Linked DNA regions of Homo sapiens: all the other regions are linked to region 1. Evidence: promoter capture Hi-C in 16 types of primary human blood cells and fetal thymus (Javierre and others, 2016). All regions are on one chromosome and are shown on one strand. Each heading gives the region's core, a stretch centred on a gene start or on the middle of the fragment in contact. The rest is flanking DNA. Distances are from core to core; before and after follow the strand shown.

What was found. Contacts are between HindIII fragments. The CHiCAGO score rates a contact against its expected background, and 5 or more counts as called.
Region 2: a fragment that was not itself captured here is called in contact with the fragment with the promoter of HLX in region 1 in 2 of 17 cell types (neutrophils and monocytes); the score reaches 10.0 in neutrophils.
Region 3: a fragment that was not itself captured here is called in contact with the fragment with the promoter of HLX in region 1 in 7 of 17 cell types (neutrophils, monocytes, total B cells and 4 more); the score reaches 16.8 in neutrophils.
Region 4: a contact is called between a fragment that was not itself captured here and the fragment with the promoter of HLX in region 1, in 6 of 17 cell types (neutrophils, monocytes, M1 macrophages and 3 more). The highest score is 7.7, in neutrophils.
Region 5: a fragment that was not itself captured here is called in contact with the fragment with the promoter of HLX in region 1 in 2 of 17 cell types (neutrophils and monocytes); the score reaches 7.4 in neutrophils.
Region 6: a fragment that was not itself captured here is called in contact with the fragment with the promoter of HLX in region 1 in 1 of 17 cell types (neutrophils); the score reaches 10.1 in neutrophils.
Region 7: a contact is called between a fragment that was not itself captured here and the fragment with the promoter of HLX in region 1, in 1 of 17 cell types (neutrophils). The highest score is 6.5, in neutrophils.

What each region holds. Positions count from the first base shown.
Region 1 is chr1:220,878,042-220,880,921 of GRCh38, reverse strand. It overlaps HLX (H2.0 like homeobox), which reads right to left and starts at 1,479. Exons shown (of 4, transcript NM_021958.4): 1 at 473-1,479. The coding sequence starts at 1,064. HLX-AS1 (HLX antisense RNA 1) reads left to right here and starts at 782. Exons shown (of 3, transcript NR_046901.1): 1 at 782-1,073. RefSeq lists an enhancer at 146-754 and a silencer at 1,873-1,922. The HindIII fragment of the contact is 7,579 bases long and covers 1-2,880 here.
Region 2 is chr1:221,119,004-221,121,883 of GRCh38, reverse strand. No RefSeq gene overlaps it. Among named protein-coding and RNA genes, the nearest start is that of LINC02817, 220 kb to the left of the region's middle. The HindIII fragment of the contact is 3,557 bases long and covers 1-2,880 here.
Region 3 is chr1:221,099,968-221,102,847 of GRCh38, reverse strand. The region is part of intron 5 of LOC101929750 (a long non-coding RNA gene); the gene reads right to left. Among named protein-coding and RNA genes, the nearest start is that of HLX-AS1, 220 kb to the right of the region's middle. The HindIII fragment of the contact is 1,991 bases long and covers 466-2,456 here.
Region 4 is chr1:221,082,781-221,085,660 of GRCh38, reverse strand. All of the region lies in intron 5 of LOC101929750 (a long non-coding RNA gene), which reads right to left. Among named protein-coding and RNA genes, the nearest start is that of HLX-AS1, 200 kb to the right of the region's middle. The HindIII fragment of the contact is 175 bases long and covers 1,396-1,570 here.
Region 5 is chr1:221,061,914-221,064,793 of GRCh38, reverse strand. All of the region lies in intron 2 of LOC101929750 (a long non-coding RNA gene), which reads right to left. Among named protein-coding and RNA genes, the nearest start is that of HLX-AS1, 180 kb to the right of the region's middle. The HindIII fragment of the contact is 965 bases long and covers 1,037-2,001 here.
Region 6 is chr1:221,039,238-221,042,117 of GRCh38, reverse strand. No RefSeq gene overlaps it. Among named protein-coding and RNA genes, the nearest start is that of HLX-AS1, 160 kb to the right of the region's middle. The HindIII fragment of the contact is 9,845 bases long and covers 1-2,880 here.
Region 7 is chr1:221,019,591-221,022,470 of GRCh38, reverse strand. No RefSeq gene overlaps it. Among named protein-coding and RNA genes, the nearest start is that of HLX-AS1, 140 kb to the right of the region's middle. The HindIII fragment of the contact is 528 bases long and covers 1,175-1,702 here.

The sequences.
Region 1 (2,880 bases), core at 230-2,729:
AGAACGCCACAGACGCAAAACCTCCGCCCCAAGGTGGCCCCACTCTGCCCGCTCATCTAGGCGGTTTTGTTTATTATTTACATTTCCTGGGTGAAATTTTTACTAGAAATCAGATAAGTGCGAAAGTGTTTCCCAAAAATGCTTTAGCTGTCAGAAAATATAATTCTGTCTCTAGATACATTATTAAAGAGATCAAAGTCATGTTAGCAGATAATTACACCAACCACTTTTATAAATATTGATTCTAAGACGTGTTTTTAAAGAATCCCTGGAGTCATTTTTTGTTTGTTTTACATAGAACAGGTGAGTTTTAGACCTAATGTTTTGTAGTTTTCTTACAATTCGTTTTCTTCTCTCCCGTTTTACCGATTTGTCCTTAATTGTAAAAACACTCAAAGGCACCCCAAGCCAGCCCGGGGTCCGGGGAGTGGGTCAGTGGTCAGAGGCCTGCAGCCTCCCGCCCAAGACCTACCTCTCAGCGTGTTGCCTTCTTTGACTTTTGGGTCAAATTCTGCAGATAAAATGCGGTCAATTCCAAATTTGAGGTCTTTGCTGGAGGGGGCCGGGGCAGAGCCACTGTGGTGGGGGTTCGGAACCACTCGCGTCCCCGAGGCCGGGGGCTGCAGGGCGCCAGCCCGGGGCGGAGGCGGAGGCTGTTGCTGCTGCGGCTGTTGCTGCTGCTGTTGTTGTTGCGGGTGATGGTGGTGGTAGGCGGCTGAGAGCGGAGACAGCCGCTGCGGGAAGCCAGCCGGGACTTCGGAGGGCGCCACCACTGGGGTGGGTCGAAGCGGGGATCTGGCCGCCGCTTGGAAAGAGGCGTGCGGGTGAACCGAGCCCAAGTGCGCGGTGAGGGCGGCGGCCGAGGCCCCTGCCAGGCCCTCCGGGGCCGCCCCCAGATCCCCCACGCCGGCGTGCAGAATGTCTGCGATGCAGAAGGAGGGCTTTTTGACGGCGGCGGGGTCCAAGGGGAAGGAGCAGCCGCCTGGGCCGGCCGAGGAGCAGTAAGCGGCCGACCAGAGGCTGAAGTTGGAGGCGTAGAAGGGAGCCAGCCCGGCTGCGAACATCCTGCCGGGGTGAGCCGCGCGGCTGCCGCAGTCCAGCCGGACTGGGTGGGTGGGCGCGCGGGGAGGGGCGCGCGAGTCCCGGAGAAGGCGGCGGCAGCCGAGGACGATCCGCTTTCGCTTCTCCGCCCGCACTGAGGAAGAGAGGCCGGGAGCCCTAGCGCCACCGAGGGAGGAGGCGAGGGCCGGATCTCGGCCGGTCACCGCCTCGCTCCCTGGCCTCGCTTTAAAGGCGGCGCGGCGCCCGCACTCCTCGCGGGCTGGATGAGAGCGAGGGGCGCTGGGGCCGCAGGGCGGGCGGGGGAGCCAGGGAGACGGGAGCCGGACACCGCAAGAAAACCCAAATAGCTAAGCCCTAAGAGCTAAATTTAAAACAACAACAATAATAGTCCGTTAGTTAGGGGGGGGGAAAAGTAATAGAAAAAAAAAAAAACTCGTCTCTAAAAACTCCCAAAGTTTTGGCAGGAGCTTTCGAGTCAGGCCCGGGGTAGGACCTCGATCCGAGCGCTCATTGGTCATCCTCGTGACCAATGGGAGCGGGGAGTGGAGGGGAATTAGGAACAAGGGGGCCTGGCCGGACCCTAGCCACGCCCCGGCCACGCCAAAGTTTTTGCTGCGGCCGCGTGGGCTTAGTAGCGCACATCGCAGTGCTTCTTGCTACTCTGCGTAGGGGCCAGGCAGCCGCTCCGGAGGGCTCTGACTCTCTTCTAACTTCTGCAGCTCCGAACCGCCACGGGGCAAGGAGGGTTGATCACAGGAGCTTTCCTGAAGCGCTTGTCACCCGGGGCGAGTTGGGGGCGTGGGGAAGGGACGGTAATCTCACTCTTTAGGGCTCTGCAAAGCCCGCCTCCCGGTGGAGAGCGGAGCGCGCTTTGGCCCCTTTGCTTCCCTTCTCTTGACCTCATTCTGCTTTTATTCCAGGAGTCCGTGTCCTCGGCAAAGCCCCTCATCTTTCCTGGGCCCTTGCCCAAATGTTGCCGCCCTGAGTCCCGGCCCAACTCAGCACCGCGTCCGCCTCGTGCCTCCCAGGAGATCCTCCGGGAAGCGAGGAGGAGGGGCGGCCGCAAATTGGTTTTATTCTGAGCTGTCACACAGTGACAAATTGAACGAGTGACTTTTCAAACAAAATAAGACGGATGGCTCCAAACGTCTCTCTTAGACGCAGCCAAACCTTTCCCCGGAGCCTCAGAGGCTACAAAACAGGCTGCCTCCCGAAACCCGGGAGAGCGGCACGCGCTTCCATCCTTTGCAGGAGGTTGTAGGAAATGTTAGCCTCACCCCTCCACCACATCTCCGGATCACGTGGGGTTCGTTGTTTTGCAAGTGCCCACAAGAGCAGATTTCCGTGGGGTTCAATACTGCTTTCAATTCTGTGACAGCTTCCCCAGGAACCCCTTGGGCCTGGTTGCAGGAGGAGCTGCGTGGTGGTCAACGTCTTCCATTCGTGCCTTGGGTCTTTAGAACGCAGGGTAGTGGTGGTGGAGGTTTTGTGCAACATCGACATATCTATTTTAAGAATTTCTTCTCTTTAAATTATAGTCAGAATGAATTTCCCCACCCCTCTCCCAAACAAACCACAGGCCACCCAGATGAGCTGTTCTTGCACATTTTCAGGAAGAAAATAAAATAATACGAATAATGAAACCACGAAAACTTTTGTTTTCGATTGCCCTAATAAGCATCTCCTAACAGGGATTCTGTGACATTTTTATTTCCCTTCAGCACGAAGGCTCCTCACCAAATAAACCCAGAAAAGCAAGTGAACTTGCCATGCCTATCTCGAGTTCAGGGTTTGGGCTTATAAAATTAATTTCTGGTG
Region 2 (2,880 bases), core at 166-2,665, 240 kb before region 1:
AGACATACCATATGGGATATATCCTGCACTATAAGTAAGGAGAAAAATTTTACCTTTAGTTGCATGAAATATAATATTGATACCAAAGAGTGAGAAAATTGCACACAACCTGGAAATGATAATATTTATGTAATTCCAGCATTTTGTATCTCATTTAGGATGAAAATTAATAAGGCTCATAAGAATTAATAATGGGGGGAAGATATCAGGGACGTTTATTTTGCATCCAAGAAAATTTTCTCTCTATGATTCAATTTACACTTTGGGAAACAAATCCGATCACTTTTGTTTTATCCAAACTAGTTTGCCCATTCCTTGAAATTACATATGATGACATAATTCAAGTCTAACTTGGCAAAATAGAGAAAGTGCAGCTCGAGTCTGGTTTCTCTTTAATTTTTATTTCCCCTGGGTCCCATTCATATTCTTACAGACACTTTCCCTTGTGACCCAATCTAATTTGATTCCCTACCACATCTCCTCTACCGAGAGCATCCAAAGCTATTTTTCAGAGATCCTATAAATAATCTTTTGACAATACTTAAAAGGTAATATTCAGAAGAAAAAAAACTTTAGCTCCAAAAGGAAGGGGGCATGGAAAAAAGACTCTTTTCAGGACAGTGTCTAAGATTGTACCCGGATATTATCAACCAATCCAAATGGTCTGTTTTTCCAACTGACTTGACAGAATTGACCCATTTTCTTGGCTTTATATAGAAAAAGCCATCATGAGGTAAAATGAGAAGGAAAAACTGACCAGTCAGAACAAAGTTACGGAAATAGAGCAGGCATCCTGAAAGGGCTGATGTTTTATGACAAAGCAAAACGACAAAACTAAGGACAGTTATCTAGGTACAATATTCCACCATCCTTCCATGAAGTTAGAGAAGGAACTGATGTTCTTCTTTGCAGACAGATCTGACATCTGAGAAAAATCCATTCTTTGACATTCGAATAATTTTGAACTTATTTTTCTATTGTCCCTACTAAGGTTTGAATGTTCACTCTCCTCCCAAATTTCTGTATTGAAATGTAGTCACCAATATGATAGGATTAAGAGATGAGGGTCTTTAGGAGGTGATTAAACCATGAAGGTGAAGCCTAAGTTAATGGAATGGAGGCTTTTATAAAAAAGGCCTCATATGTACCTTTTTCAGCTTTTTTCCTTTCTGTCATGTGAAGAATCAAGGCATCATCTTGGAACCACAGAGTAGCCTTCAGAGACACTGAACCTGCCAGCACCTTGATCTTGAACTTCCCGGTCCCTAGAACCATGAGAAAATAAATTTCTCTTCTTTCTAAATTATCCAGTCCCAGATATTTTGTAATAGCAGCTTGAGCAGATTACGACAGTCTCCTGTGTCCCCTCTTAGCCCCATGGGTCTCTCCCGACTGGCCCCACTGCCTGTCAGGCTCATTCTGCTCCAGTATGCAACCAACACCTTCTATTAGTTTGCTAGGGCTGCCATAACAAAATACCACAAACTAGGTGGGTTAAACAACAGAAATTTATTTCCTCACGGTGTTGGAGGCAGAAGACCAAGATCAAGGTATGCCATGGACTGAATTGTGCTCCCTCTCCAAAATTCATATGTTGAAGCCCTAATCTCCAATGAGATGGCATTGGGGCCTATGGGAGATTATTAGTTTTGTATGAGGTAATAAGGGTGGAGCCTTCATGTCGGGATTAGTGCCCTTATAGGAAGAGGGAGAGACACTAGAACTTTGTCTCCATCACACGAGGACACAGGGAGAATGGTCATCTGCAAGCCAGGAAGAGAGACCTCACTGAAGAACTGAATTCACTAGTCCCTTGATCTTGGTCTTCTCAGTCTTCAGAATTGTGAGAAATAAATTCCTGTTGGATAAGCCACCCAGACTGTGGTATTTTGTTACAACAGCCCAAGCCGATTGACACAAGTTTGGTTTCTTCCTGGAGCCTCTCTCCTTGGCTTGTAGATGGCCATCTTCTCCCTGTGTCTTCAGTTTTTTGCTCTGTGCATATCTGTGTCCTTCCTAATTTTATTTTCTTATAATGACACTAGCCACATTGGATTAGGGCCCACCCTAATGACCACATTTTACCTCTTAAAGCCCCTATATTCAAGTACTGGGGTTTAGAACTTAAACATATGAATTTGGAGAGCAGGGGGACACAATTCAGACCATAACACACCTTAAGGTCCTTGCCTCAGAGGTCTATTTACCTTTCACCTTATTCCTTGATGTTAAACTAATTTCATCGGCTTCCTAACTGTACAAGAGGGAATGAAAACACTTCTTCCAGGTTAAATATACATATCAGTTGATTTCAAGGTGCATCCTAATTTTGGACAAGTGAAACGTAAGAGAAATAATTATCTTTTAAGAAATATGATAGTAAATGACTTTGAAAACTTAAAATTCTTGTAAAATTTATAGAACTGAAGCTCTAAGAGTTGGAATTATGGCCGATGAAAAAGACATAAGTAGATGGCTCTCCACTGAGTGAGCCGTTTAGATCATTTAACTTCACATTCTCAACACTTGTAACATCACTGAGGATATTTTCAGTGTGGACTGGAGCAGAGGGTGCAAAGGCAGAGGCAAGAGGACTTGCTCAGTTTCTTCCAGTTCTTTCATTAGGAAGTAGTACACTACACACTGACAACTCTATTAGCCACAGGCTTTTTCTTTCAAGGTCCTTGTTTTTGAATCCCTACCATGCTCCAGTTTCTTTTTATAGGAACTGTGTAAGTATCAAGCAGGCAGCCAGTCAATGCTGACTGACTGATTTAGTACTATCATCACTTCAGAGATATTCACATGAGAGCACTAGTAATTCCAAGTGGCCTTCATTTTTATTTTGAGGGTGAGAAGGTGTAGATGTGTTCATTTTTA
Region 3 (2,880 bases), core at 212-2,711, 220 kb before region 1:
ACAGGCATCGAACAAAATACAGGAAAAGCCCACAGAGGCAATGGAATCCATGTGATAACTCAAGTCAGTCCGGCTCCAAACTCACTCCCTTGGAAGGAAATAGCTTTTCAGAATACAGAAATTGGCTATTTACCCTTCAAATTTATTTTGCTTTATTGACTTGAACATGGAAGCCGAAAATATGCAACCACCAAAAGTTTTAACTCTATAGATCTATGTTGTGCCAATGTTAGGTACTCTATCTAATGTGCCAGTATCAATGAAGAAAAATGGCAGAAAGAAAAAAAATGAAAACACATTTAAAAAAGAAAATATCTCTTTGCAAGCAATCTCTTTACTTAGCAGAAGCCACAACTTTATGACTTTTTCAGCAGAGACAGAAGTGTATTTTTCAATTCTCTCATTCCTTTGGGGCAATAAAGCCACACTATAAAGCAGTGGGTTGTCAATCAGTCATAAAAAGCTTAACAGATGATGACATAAATGACAAGAATATGATCTATAACTATGTCTTTAAACCATAGACTAATTCTTAATTGTCCAAACTCCTTATAACAACAACAAAAAAAGTCTTCTGAAAAACAAGGAAGAGTTAACATTAGAAAGGAGAAGGAATACTTTGTGTTGGTTTCCAACCTCCAATCTCCTCCAAGCTGAATATTGCATACAAATCTGTATTTGTGAGGCACCCTCATCCACCAGTTAATCAGAGCCCTGGAAATTCAAGGAAACCTGTGTTTATGGAAATCTGGCATTTCTGTAAAGTTTTGAATGAGGGCTAAATAGAGCAGTTCATCTCATTTTGAAACTAATGATTCCTGCCAAGTGGTTTTCCAATGCTGGGTCTTCTGGCTCAGTCAGCATTTAGGAATTCATTTATGAGTTGGGTTAGTAGGAGACTCTGGAATTCAAATTTATGTCTGCAACTCACTAGTTTGCTCCTGATAGGTCTCTGAAAAGAGATTGTAATCAATTTAACAAACCCAGACTTCAGGAAATTTTCATATCCCAAAAAAAATTTCTGGTTTGGAGCTTTGTCCCATATTGGAATCAGCCCTCCTCCCCCTTCACTCCACGCTAAGCACTGAGTCTTGCTGTCTATGGCCCTTTCACTCAGCTCATCCCATCATTCAAAGCAGCCTTGCCAGGTGCACTAGAATCTACCTCCCTTAATAGACCTGCTAGCAGATTATAAAATGGCAGAATATATGTGTGGTTTGTCACCTCAGACGGTTTCTATATTATCTGTCTGTTTCTTGATAGAAGTGGCAAAGGTTCTGATAATTATTTATCCAATTTGTTTTAAAGATTTATCTGCCCCGTAATGTTCCAGGAAATTGGAATATGGGGTGTGTGTGTGTGTGTGTGTGCGTGTACACGTGTGTGTGTGTACATTTTCCCCCAGTCTTATAAACCCACACTTTACTTTTTAGCAAGGCAAAGGGCAAGCATTGAGCAGCCTTTCAATGTAACCATAAATTTACTACTTTTTAAAAAATTTCCTTTGAAGAAGTCATCAAATAAATTAGCAAAGCTGGAAAGGTGCCTCTAGTTTGTGTTGGCTTTGGGTCTTAGGGAGTTACTTAATAAACAAAAGTCAGTGAATTCAAACAGTAACAAAGTAATTTCAATGATTAATCAAGTGTTAAAACTAGTTTAACCTCTCCTGTTTTACAAACTCTATATCACCCTGACTAAACTAATAGAGGAATAAGACACCCATCTGGAAATCTCATCTGAAATATTAGATTGGGAATCTAAAATTCAGCCAAATAGTGTGGCTTGTAGGGATATCCTGTTGGATAATAAATTGCATTAATCTTACTTAAATTTTCCATCTAAATCATGTCCTGAGGCCATATTACTCTGAGGAAACTGTGCCTTACTTTAAATGCATTGTGCTACTGAAAACGATATTAAAAGAAGGGGGGAAAGAATTTTTCTCCTTTTTTTGTTCTCCTGCCTGGTTTTTCCAACATTAAAAAAATCCATGTGAAACCTTCTGGCTCTTCTAGAAGAACCAATGTCTACTCAAATCAGCACTAGCTCTTTCCAGTCACTTACAGGAAGCAGTATCAGTCACAGAACATTTTCAGGAACTTTGCTCTAATTTATCTGTTTCTTCCCATCTGTGAACTCTGAGTCATGGTGGCTTATGGCAAACGTTTTTTCTTTTTAGTAGTGGCAGGCGGAGCATCTTTTTCTTAGCCACTTTTTGACTTTCACATGTACAGAACTGCAACCACTGTCTTTCCTGAAGATTCTACTGTGGCCTTTTTATTCCTTCCATTTTTTAAATAAAAAACATTAAAATCTGCTTAAATGTTTAAACTATTTAAAAATTTCCAAGGTGGGGAGAAATATCATAGAGGCTTTTGTAGAGCTTCAAGAAAGGACTCGGCTGGCTCTGAAGCCACACCCAGCTCGATGCCATTGTCTGCTACCTACTGTAAGCTTAATTATTAAGTGCACTAAAAGGTGATAGCATAATGTTGACTCAAACCCACAAACCCTCAGAAATGCTGAGTTTTCTCTGCTTATCCGGAGCATCTGCTTTCTTAGGCTTTACAAAGAAAGGGGAATCTTGGGACAGAGCCCCGCTATTTCTTAACACTCTTGAAAACGGCTGAACAGAGAAAATGACAGCCATCACAGAAGTGATGCTGCTCATCAGGACCCGAGTATTGTGTGGCCTTTCACAGCCACCTCTGCATTACTCCTCCCAGCATCCTCTAGGGCAGGCATCGCTTTCACCACAGGCAGGTGAGAAAGGAGTAATAAGTGAAACGCCCACCTGTGGTGGCGGGATTACCCGGAAAGGAAGGAGCCAGGACCAGAGCTGAGGCCATCAGTCCTCTGACAATTCAAACCACTGGTGAG
Region 4 (2,880 bases), core at 234-2,733, 200 kb before region 1:
GTAATGCCTTAGGCAAAAAACAATTCACATCATGGGTATTGCGCTCTATGCTTCATTCTGTTATTGTGCTGAAGAAGACCTCTGATTCCTGTGCAAATTTTCTGCTCTTTAAAAAATGTTTTTCATGCTGAAAAATGAGTTATAAAAACCAGTGGGACAGAGGGCTTCCTGAAGGGAATGGTGAATAGTGCTCATACAGCAAAGAGATCAATACTTAAAAATGGAAACACCCCATTAAACTTGGCATGTTGGAAGTCATTGGTGACTTGGATAAGTGTCAATGAGATAGACACAAGACAGATGCCAATGGATCAAAAGTGATTTGAGATGAAAGAGATGACAGCAAATATAGATTACTATTCCTAGAACTGTGACCGTAAAAAAAACAAACAAACAAACAAAAAAAAAACAAGAAAACAAACAAAAAAAACAAGGGTTTTTTGTTAATGGCATCTTGATTGCACTGGTTACCCAGCCTCAGCATCTAGTCATCTTTGATACTTTATCTCCCTTGCCTCCTACGTTGGAATTACCAATTCAGTGAAATTTGTAGAAATCAATGCCTCTAAAATGAATAAATGTTTTTTGATTTTCATGGCTACATCTTCATTCAGACCGTCATTGTTTCACACCTAGACACTTCAAGAACTTCCTAACTTTTGGCCTAGCACTTCACGCCCGCAACAATCTGCAAACTAACTCCCTTATCAGGTTTATCTACCTTGACGACCCCATTTGAGTGCTTTTCTCCAGCAAAACTCTCCACCAAAATCACCCTGCATGTTTTCACATCCTTGCCTTTGTTTTTGTTCCAAGCACCCCATTAAATGCATCACCATCCTTCAAGATCCATTTCAAGTATCATCTTCCCCATGAAGCTGGCCTGCCCTTTCCAGGCAGAGATGGTCTTTCTTGTCTCTGGCTACCTTAGACCAACATGTTACTCATCATTCACTATACATTCATCAAGGCTTCTTGAGTTCCTTCATAACAGGGACCCCAGTATTTAGCTCTCCCCTGAACTTAAACAGTACTCTTCATATTATATAAAAAGGCACCTGACACAAAGTTGGTGGAATGGTATTTCTTATTTGTAGCTACATGACAGAGATAGCTAAAAATGTGGCTTCTGGTTGTTTTCGCTAACAGTTACTCATTTTGTACCTGGTTCCTGATTGCAAAGTTATGATGTTTCAGAGTAAAACCAGCCACTTTCCTAAGACTCCAGAAAAAAAAAACAGACTCCTATGAACAAACTGTTTCCAACACTTATGCACAGTAATAACAAATCTGTTGAAAAACCAGTTAGTTGGTACAAAGCAGTTATCACTTGAACCAATAATATTATCAGGTCACACCTTTTAGTTAACAAAACTGAAGACTATGCAGGAAGCTTTATGCAGGGAACTAAGTGTAAGATTCTTAACTGTTGGAGATAATATGTTGACATCATTTAAATTTGTTCTTTCATATTTACTCATTTATTGAATATGTATTGGTTGCATATCATGTGGACAGCACTGTATTAGGTATCACTTTTTCTTCCACTTTTTAAAAAGTTTCCAAAGCTTACTGATGTTGGGGGAAAACCTCGTCCCCAGAGCCTTGGCCTTGAATTCAGAGGTTTCTGAACTGAACTCTGACTGCTTCTAACTCATAGCCATGCCAGTCCACTTTCCATGCCTTCCTTTCCTCATCCATTCACTAAGAGGTGGAGAAAAAAGACAAAATAATTCCATTTGTTAAAAATGAATCTAGGGTCCACTGTGCATAAGAATAGAGCTACAAAGGGTGTATTCGGAAGCAATCTACAACGATCACAGTAAGTACATCTTGAATAAGTCAACAGAAACAAGAACATTTTGAAGTGTTTCAGGAAAAGTAAAGAAATTAATGTAAAATAAATGAAAGAGGAATATTCCCGTGCATCCAGCACCCAGATCCAAAAATAGCGCCATAGAACATTAACAGCAGAAAGGATAGCCACTATCCTGGATTCTAACAGGAGTCTACATATTTTTTAAAGTTTCCTAGCTTATTAGTTAGGTTTTGAAGCAACTGTTTTAGGAAAGTTAGCAAAGAATACCTTACAATCTTAAAGTTATTTTCAAGTTCTTTACATAGGGGTGTGTGTGTGTGTGTGTGTGTGTGACAGAGAGAGAGAGAGATCAGATATGCTTGGATCGCCTTCCCCTGCCCCAAGGATCTGGAAATATGATACATGGACAACAATTTATTTTCCATGGATATATGATTGAGTTCTTTAGCAGAGGTGGAGAAGGAGGTGACATGATAAGAATAATGTCTTAGAGTCTAATTCCATCATCCAAAGGTGTGGGTTGAAATTAGGGACAATTGGAGCCAGAGAGACAAGGGACTAAGCTATTTTTATAATACAGGTGTGAGATGACAAGGGCTGATATTAAGCTAGTGACTGTGGATATAGGGAAGAATGGTTGGTTGGAGAGATATTGCGGGCACATAATAAATTCCAGAGGATATATTGGCAGATGCCAAAAGACAAGATTTCCCAGAATTAAATCCCGATGCTCATAAACTCTGGTATGTTCCTTTATCCCACAGTGTGGGACTGTGTGTGCATGTATCTATGTGTGTTTGTGTGCCTGCAGCTTCACCCCAAAAGATCAAAGCCTAATTACTGTACAAACAGACATAAACCACATGAATACAAAACAGTCTCTGTCAACTGAGAAGTGTTGAGGACATCTTTTTGTAAGTTTCATGCCTCTTAGGTAGAGTTCAAAATGAATATCATCTAATTTTGGATCTTTATTCCAAGGTGAGACAGGATGCCCTGTTTTAATCAAGAGTTTATAAAATTAAAGGGTGTGAGATCACCTATTCTGTTTTCTAAAAAAT
Region 5 (2,880 bases), core at 270-2,769, 180 kb before region 1:
AAGAACAGAAAAAAAAAAGGTAATAAGTGTTCCTATAATATTGACTAATTTCTTATTTGCTTCAATGCTTTTTGTTTGTTTCAATGCTTAATCTAAATTAAATTTCTTCATTCTCACTCTTAAAAAGGAAGGAGGAAGAGAACCCAGCACAGAAAGTACAGGAAAACATCATTCCTTAACCTCTTTAAAATTCTTTCATAAAGTAAACCACCTCATTCATCAAAGATGTGATTTTATGTACAATAAAGTATTTTTAAAGGTTTTGCAATTTTGTGGATCTTTCAGAAATTTAGCCAAAAAAATTCAAGAGTGCCATGAGCTCAACTGAACAGACCTTTGAGACAATCAAGTCCAATCCCTTCATCATACATTATGCAAGTAAGCAGACAGGAAAGGAAGAAACTTTTGACAAAATTTCAGAATGGTTTCTAACCATATCTTTTTAGGATTAATTTCCTCTCTAATAGTTATTTTGAAGGCCAAATTCTCATTTTGAGTTACATGGTAAGTACACATTCCATTAACTATGTATTTTTAATGGAGAAAAAATGCTGTCCACATTTATCTGTATATGATAGTTGCTTCAAAATATTGTTTCATGTTAAGTGTCTTTGGTTTGTTTATTTCATGTGTTTTTTTTTTTTAATTAAACTTAAGAGAAGGGAAGTCAGTTATATTGTATCCGTATTTTTACTGACCATGTTCTTTCTTCCTGATGTTCTAAGGGTTCTTCTTTCGGCATTTCTTTTCCATGTAGAGAGCTTCCTTCAGCTGTTCTTTTAAAGCAGATCTGCTGGTGACAGATTCTTAGTTTTTCTTCATCTGAGAAGGCTTTGATTTCCCATTGATTCCTGAAGGATACTTTGACTAAGTATAGGAATTCTAGGTTAACAGTTATTTTCTTTCAGCACTTGAAAAATGTTGCACCACTTCCTTCTGGGATCTATAGTTCCTGGTGAGAAATATGTTGTCATTCAAATTATTTTTTGCCCTGCAAGTAAGGTGTTATTTTTCTGTCACTAAGCACTTTGAAGCTTTTTAAAATTGTCTTTAGATTTCAAGTTTGACTCTATTGTGTCTTCATATGGATGTCTTTGGATTTATCTTCCTTGGAGTTTACCCAGCTTCTCAAATTTGTAGGTTTACATCTTCTGCCAAATTGGGAACATTTTCAGTCATTATTTCTTAAAGTGCTTCTTTAGTCCTATCTCTTTCTTCTCTCTTTCTAGGTCTCTGATTACACATTATATCTTCTATTATATTCTCCCAGGTCCCTAAGGCTCTGTCCTTTTTTTTCAGTTATTATTTTCTCTACATTGTTCTAATTGAGTAATATCTGTTGTTCTGTCTTCCAGTTACCTGATTCTTTTCTCTGTTCCCTCCATACTGCTCTTTAGCCTGTCCATTGTGTTTCTTATATTGATTGTTATATTTTTCAGTTCCAAAATTTCTCATTGAATTATTCTTTATATTTTCTCTTTCTTTCTTGAGACTTTCTATTTATTAAAGTTTTCTGTTTTTACAATTTGTAATTTTAGTATATTCTGTAATGTTTTTAATTGCTTGTTGAGGCATCTTAGGACAGCTGCTATAAAATTCTTGATCATTCTAATATCTCTATCAGCTTAGTGTTGGCAACTATTGATTGTCTATCTTCATTCAGTTTCAGATCTTCCTGGTTCTTGGTTTAAGAAGTGATTTTCATTTGAAACATGGACAGTTTGGGTATTAAAAGACTCAAGATGTTATTTAAACCTTCTGTTTTAGCTGTTTTCTTCTGACACAGTCCTGGCAGGGAAAGTAGGGTGCCACCTCATTCCTAGCCAATGAAGGTAAAAGTCCAGGTTGTCACTTAGCTTCCATTGCCACATTGGGGTGGGGGATGCCACTTGTTACCGCTGGACAGAGGTAGGAGCTGCTTCTCCCCACCTGAGCTCCTCTAATACCAAGGGAGCAGGGTGGCCACAAGTGGTGGTAAAAGTCCTGACTCTCCACTAAGCTTTTTCTGACACTACTGCACCAGTGGCTGTGGGTGGAAGTCTAGAATCCCCATGTAGTCTCCACTGACATCAAAAGTAGAGGAAAAAGGAGGCAGAGGGAATACTCAGTGTGGATGAAACTCCCAGCTCCCTGCTCAGATTTTTCTGACATCACCCCAGTGGAGGTGGCATACAACACTTCACTATCCCTCTGAAGGGAGCAAATCTATGCTCCCCACTTGGCCTTTGCTGGTGGGAGTGAGGTTGGAGCCGCTGTATTTTTCTGTAGCATTGGCTGGAGTACAGCAGTTATTGTCAAAGTTTTCTATCTTGCTAGGCTGCCTATTGGCTGGCCTTTGGCTAGAGAAAGTAGGCTTTTGGAAGGGACATTTTTGTCTGCTCCTATTGGCATTTCCAGGTTGCTGGCTTTGTTAGTTTCAAGTCTCAGATACGTGAGGCCAAAAGAAAACCCAGGGAACTTTCCACAGTGTTGTTTCTTGGGTTCCAAGTTCCCTAGTTCTGCCTTCTTCTCTTGACCTTTAGAGTCTTCTTTTGTTTGTGTTACATATTTTGTTCAGGGTTTTTGTTTTGTTTTGTTTTGTTTTGCTTTTGGAGATGGAGTCTCGCTCTGTCACCCAGGCTGGAGTGCAGTGGTGCGATCTGGGAAGAGTATATCTATTTCATATTCCCGAAAACAGAAGTCCATTTTAGGTGAGGTTATTTTTTTTTAATTTTTTATTTCCATAGGTTTTTGGGGAACAAGTGGTATTTTATTACATGAGTAAGAACTTTAGTGGTGATTTGTGAGATTTTGGTGCACCTGAGCAGTATACACTGAATCCAGTTTGTATTCTTTTATCCCTCACCCCTCCCACCCTTTCGCCTGAGTCCCCAAAGTCCA
Region 6 (2,880 bases), core at 257-2,756, 160 kb before region 1:
TTTATGGTGGTGCAAAATCTTTCTGTTTTTCACTTTCTGTGCAGTATTTGATAAATTACATGAGATATTTGATGCTTTATTATAGTCTTTGTACTAAATGATTTTGCCCAACTAGAGGCTAGTACAGGTGTTCTGAGCACATTTAAGGTAGGCTAGGCTAACCATGATGTTCAATAGGTTAGGAGTATTAAGCACATTTTTGACTTTGGGTATTTTGAGTTTACAGTGAGTTTATCAAGAGGTAGCCGTGTTGTAAGTCAACAAACATCTGTTTAAGAAGCTGGTAAAGGCCAGGTGCTGTGGCTCATGCCTATAATCCCAGCACTTTGGGAGGCTGAGGCGGGCAGATCACGAGGTCAAGAGATCGAGACCATCTTGGCTAACACAGTGAAACCCCGTCTCTACTAAAAATACAAAAAATTAGCTGGGCATGGTGGCGGGCACCTATAGTCCCAGCTACTTGGGAGGCTGAGGCAGGAGAATGGCGTGAACCCGGGAGGCCGAGCTTGCAGTGAGCTGAGATTGAGCCACTGCACTCCAGCCTGGGCCACAGAGCAAGACTCCGTCTCACAAAAAAAAAAAAAAAAAAAAAAAAAAAAGAAGCTGGTAATATTAGGACTTTAGAAAAACAGGTTCTAAGTAGGAAGTAGCTGAGGAAAATATTAAAACTTTTTACCTCTTTGAGTTATTTAACCCATTAAATAAGTAAAAAACATTTATTAATTTTAAAAATTAGTATAGGGAAAGATAGCAAAATTAGTTGCAAAGAAAACAAATAGGTTTTCTCATTCACAGCAAAATCTTTTAACCTAGTTCCATGCTGTAGTTTCCCTCTATTGGGAAAAGTCAGCCCTATTATGGACCTGTTTGTCAGGAAGAAAAATTCCCATTGGCTAAGATTTAACCAGTCCCATTCACCCTGACAAATAAGAGGCACAAGACTCTAGCTGTCACAGCATGAGAGTCCACATCCTGATGATCACATTCACCCAACACTCCCCTGGAATTTGAGCAAGGTCCACACCTAGCCAAGAGTGTAGAGGAAACATCACCACTGGCATTCTTGGGTGAACTTTGTTTCTTGGCTCAGATTGTGTGTGTAGCCTCCAGTGTACTCCAACCTTGTTGAAAAACCTCTCCTAGGAGCACTGTGACTTCCGGATATGACCTTTCAAGTCCAGAAGATGTGAGTTGCGCCAGAATTCCCATCCAAAACTGCCTCTGGCCATCCCTGAACTGTCTCAACCTCCACCTCATTCCTTTCACTCCCTCTTTCCAGAATCACTCCACTCAGGGGATTTAGGTGGTGATTTCATTTTTCCTCAGAAAAAACTTTCTCCAGCATGTAGCTCCCCAACATCCCTTCTGCCCTGAAGTCAGAAAAATCCAGAAAGAAAGATGAAGTACACACTTGAGGGAAAAAAATGCTGATTTATAAAGAACAGCTGAGGAAGCTGGGAAACAGTTTTGCTTACTTGAACTGGAAGGCCCCAGAGAATTGCAAATTATTTCATGTCCCTACCAGTGTGCTGATCCAATTAATCCCCTAGAAGTAAAGTTATCAGATACAATATAGGACACCCAGTTAAATTTATATTTCAGATAAATGGTAAGTGATTATTTTAGTATAAACATGTCTCAAATATTGCAGGAGTTCTGTATTTTTGTTTGCTAAATCTGGCAATCTGATCCAGAAGGGAACTGATTATCCTCTTTTTCCTATTCTCAGGATACCTTTATTCTCCATATTAAAATTATTCATTCACAAATGCCTTAGGTCCACTCAAGCATTAGCAACAGCTCCATTATCCCTTATCTCTCAGAAACATGTCTTATTTCACTGAGATAGTGATAGGGAAACGCAGTCTAAATTCACCAATTGCTACTGACACTGCATCTGACAATGATAACAGTTTCCATCCTGAGCAATGTTCCATCAAGGAAACAAGAAGTTTGCCTTGCTTATATTACATGATGACAAGAAAGCCAGCTAATTTATACATCATTTCTTATCAAAACATTGGCAAGCATTTATTTAGATATGGTATTATATCAAAAAATAAAACTCTAGTTCTAGGGAACATTGCTAGGAAGAGGTAATTGGCAATTATTGGGTTTATTTAATGTCTATAAAGAGTTTAATTAGATCATTCAGTTATCAAAGAGATGTGTAAGACCTGCACTGGCCAGAATTCAACTGAAATGTGCTTCATTATCTTTCATGGTATGATCATGCTCCCAGCTCATTTTGGAGAGCATCTGCTGAGAGTGTTGGTGCATTACAATGAGTCATCCCCATTCTCTTGCTAGGTCTCCCTGTGACCAACAACACACAACTGTGGGACTGCAAGCTGGAGCTAAAGCAATTGTCTTTGTGTGAATGTTACAAATATTCATGAGAAAGGTCGGCTTCTGAGATTTAACCATTGGAGTTAACTGGCTGCCACTTAGGCCACATGAATTGACTAATTAGCTAATGTCTACTTTCTTTTGGCTAGTGGATCTTGTTGTTTGGTTGTTGTCTATTAATAGACTATGTTCCTTTTATTTAAAAAAGAAAATTAAAGAAATCATGGATTGATGGAAGGAGAAAAATGGATAAGTGGGAAAGATGATATGTAGAGGAGAAAAAAATGAAAAAGTTGAAATTTAGTATAAAATAAAATGTGTTTAACCATGCCTATTGTGTTGTCCCTCCCCTCCTCTGTTCTTTCATGACACACCATGCCTGCCTCAAATGTGAATAATTATGCCAGCCAACCTATATGCATGATCCCATTTTGTTTAAGAAATATTGATATTTAGCAAAACGTTAACTGGATTCTTTTAAGTTGTGGTAATATAAATGATTTTGATTTTTTGCTTGTTCCGTTTTCTAAA
Region 7 (2,880 bases), core at 189-2,688, 140 kb before region 1:
CTGCACTGTAATATTAAGAACTATTCTAATTAAAAAAGAATGCACTGTGCTTAGAAACAACCACCAGCCATAATTCATCATCTCTGAGGGCTGGAAGTAACACAGCAACAACCCAAAGAAAAGGGGAGAGAATCGGGGAGAGGAGAGCAAAGTTTGAAATTGCCCAGAGCTTGCTCTGCCTCCAGTTCCCTGTTCCTTTTGTACAAGCCTGCCACACGTCTGTGCCCTCAAGCTTGCCATGGCTTTGACTGACAATCCTTTTCCAGTATATCCTCCTTTCTAGTCCTGAGGAAGCCCCCACAACCACGAGGAAACCCTGTTACCCAACTAGATCTCTCTGTCGGAAGCAGTGTAAAGTCTTCTCTTTTCCCTAGGAAAGGACTGGTGGCAGTGGTTGGGCTGTTGCAGATGCCCCGAGGACTTACAGAAATACTTGAGCCCCACACGCAACATAAAAGATTCTCCAAGCGTGGGCCTCAAACTATTTCTTCCCACAGTGTTCCATGGTTCTTTATCCTCCTCAGTGCTTACAAGAGAGCAGTGCCTAATCTCTTGTTTCTGACATGAATAGTAGATCTTTAGAGCTACCAGATGAGCTCTGGGCAGTAGTTCATGGACAGATGCTCTCATCACCCTGTTTGGGCTGGAAAGCTTTTCATTGATGATCCACTGATGTAGATAGTCCTGATTATCAAAGTCATCCTTCATGGTTTGGCATCTGGCCCCTCTCTTCCATCATCCCTGGTCCCCCTCTCTCCCAAACGTGCATTCTCTAATGCTGTCTTTTCACATTTTCACATATGTCTCCAGCTGTCTGGAACATCCCTTCACCCATCACCCCTTCTTTTTGTTTCTGTTCATGTGTAATGCCTAGGGATTACTCAAGACTCTGCTCAGGGCCATCTCCTCCTTCTTTCAAAGAAGCCCACCATCATTCCCCTCTGTCTAAGTTGGCTGCTCTTTTTATTGTCCCAAAGCGTCTTATGCCTTCCCCTATTTTAACACTTGCCACAGTATCATTGTGCACTTACTCCCCCACAATATGGGGAACACCATGAAGGCACAAGCTGTCTTCCCTAACACTTAGGTTGGTTCGTGATATGCAGTGGGTGCTCAATCATTGTTGAATGAATGGACTGAGAAACACTGAAGCTTTCCAGTTTGTTGTAAAGCTTCCTAATATCACTTAACTGACATTATGCCAAAACTTACTTATTTCCCAATACAGCTAATACTACAGCATAAAAAGGAGAATAATATTTATGCTCCCACACAGCCAAAGAGGTGTGGGCAGCTTATACACAGAGAATATCTCATTCTCTCTCTTCTTGCTTAGGTATGAACAACTTTTGACTCTCACTTAAGATCTACAATCTCTTATCTGTAATTCCAAAATGCAAAAGACCTGAATAGTGAAAGTTTTTTGTAGCTGTTTGGCCATAAAATCTCACCTGATTTCAATATATATGAAAGCAAAAACTGACCTGAAAAGACGTGACATTTCTTATAGTATTTATTTCATTTCATGAAAGTCTTCATGAATTTTGCTTAAGAAATACAAAGTGGGTATTTTATAATGTAAGGTATATGCACCATATTCATTTGTAATAACTGGGACAAGTCTATATGTACCTTTTACCTAAGATTTTAGAATCAGGGCTGTGGCTATAACTTGAAAATCACCTAGGAGGTCAAAGAAGCTTTGGATTCTCTAGTGATGGGACCAATAAATCAGACAATGGGACTTATTAAGATGATATGGCCCACAAAAAAAGAAAACAGATCTTCATTTTACTGCTTTTTATATCTTTTTTTCTTCACTGGAGAGTTTGGGGGCCCGTCTTTTATTTATTCTTCAGCCCTTGATTATTTTGATGCTTATGTTACATGAACTGTTCTACTGGGTACACAGAGTTCTCCAGTCAACAGAGTTCTTGAGTCAACAGGGGGAAATAGGACTTACCTGAATTTCCCAATTCAAGCCACTTTTGTTGCCATGTTCTCTTGGTCTTAACATCTCTACCCATCCAGAGCAAAGTTTTTGTGAATGTGTTATTGTTCTCCCTGTATTTCTGCTCTTGTCACAATCACTTGCCCCCATTTCAACAGGTGGATATACCTTTGGGCTGCCTTCATTCAGTGACTTTAGTAGACTGAACAGCAAAACCAAGAGCAGAAATGCCCAGAAGGCTGAGGTCATTCTACATGTCCAGAGGGGTCCAGGGATGGAAAATCTTTTGAGTCCTAGAGTCATCCTGCCAGGATGACTTCTGGGAAGTCATCTTTTCTTCTGGGAAGAAAAAAGGTCTGCAGGGTCTGGGACCAGTGTGGATCACTTTGCTCTCTGCAGTGGTGCGTGGGGAAGTAGCAAGGCCTTGCCAGGATATTTAGTAGAACTTCTTGGAGAAGGACACCTGGACTCTCAGGATCCCAGGCTTACAGAAATACTTGAGCCTCACACCCAGCATAAAAGCAGAGAGCAGCCATATATCAAGAATACTCACTGGTTTGACCATAAGAATGTCAATGTCAATGTGAACATGGAATCCTGGAGATGGGAGGCCTTTTATCCATCTCCTTGGCCTCACATAGCCTCTCAGATTCTGGTACCCTCCAAGAAAAAACAAATTGGCCCAACAAGTGACCAAGATAAAATTTCTACCAGTCAGGTAAGTTGGGTGCCTTGATGTGAGGAAATAAAAAAGTAAATATCTTGCCCATATGAGCTCATAGACTCAGATGTATGCCCATTATATGTAATTCAACAGAAGAGCTTTATACTATATACTTACTTCCTCTCGTTGCCTTATTTTGCCCCCATTACAAATTCTAAGGAAAGAATTCTAAGTAGGTCCCTGTTGCCTGGCTCTTGGTTAGATC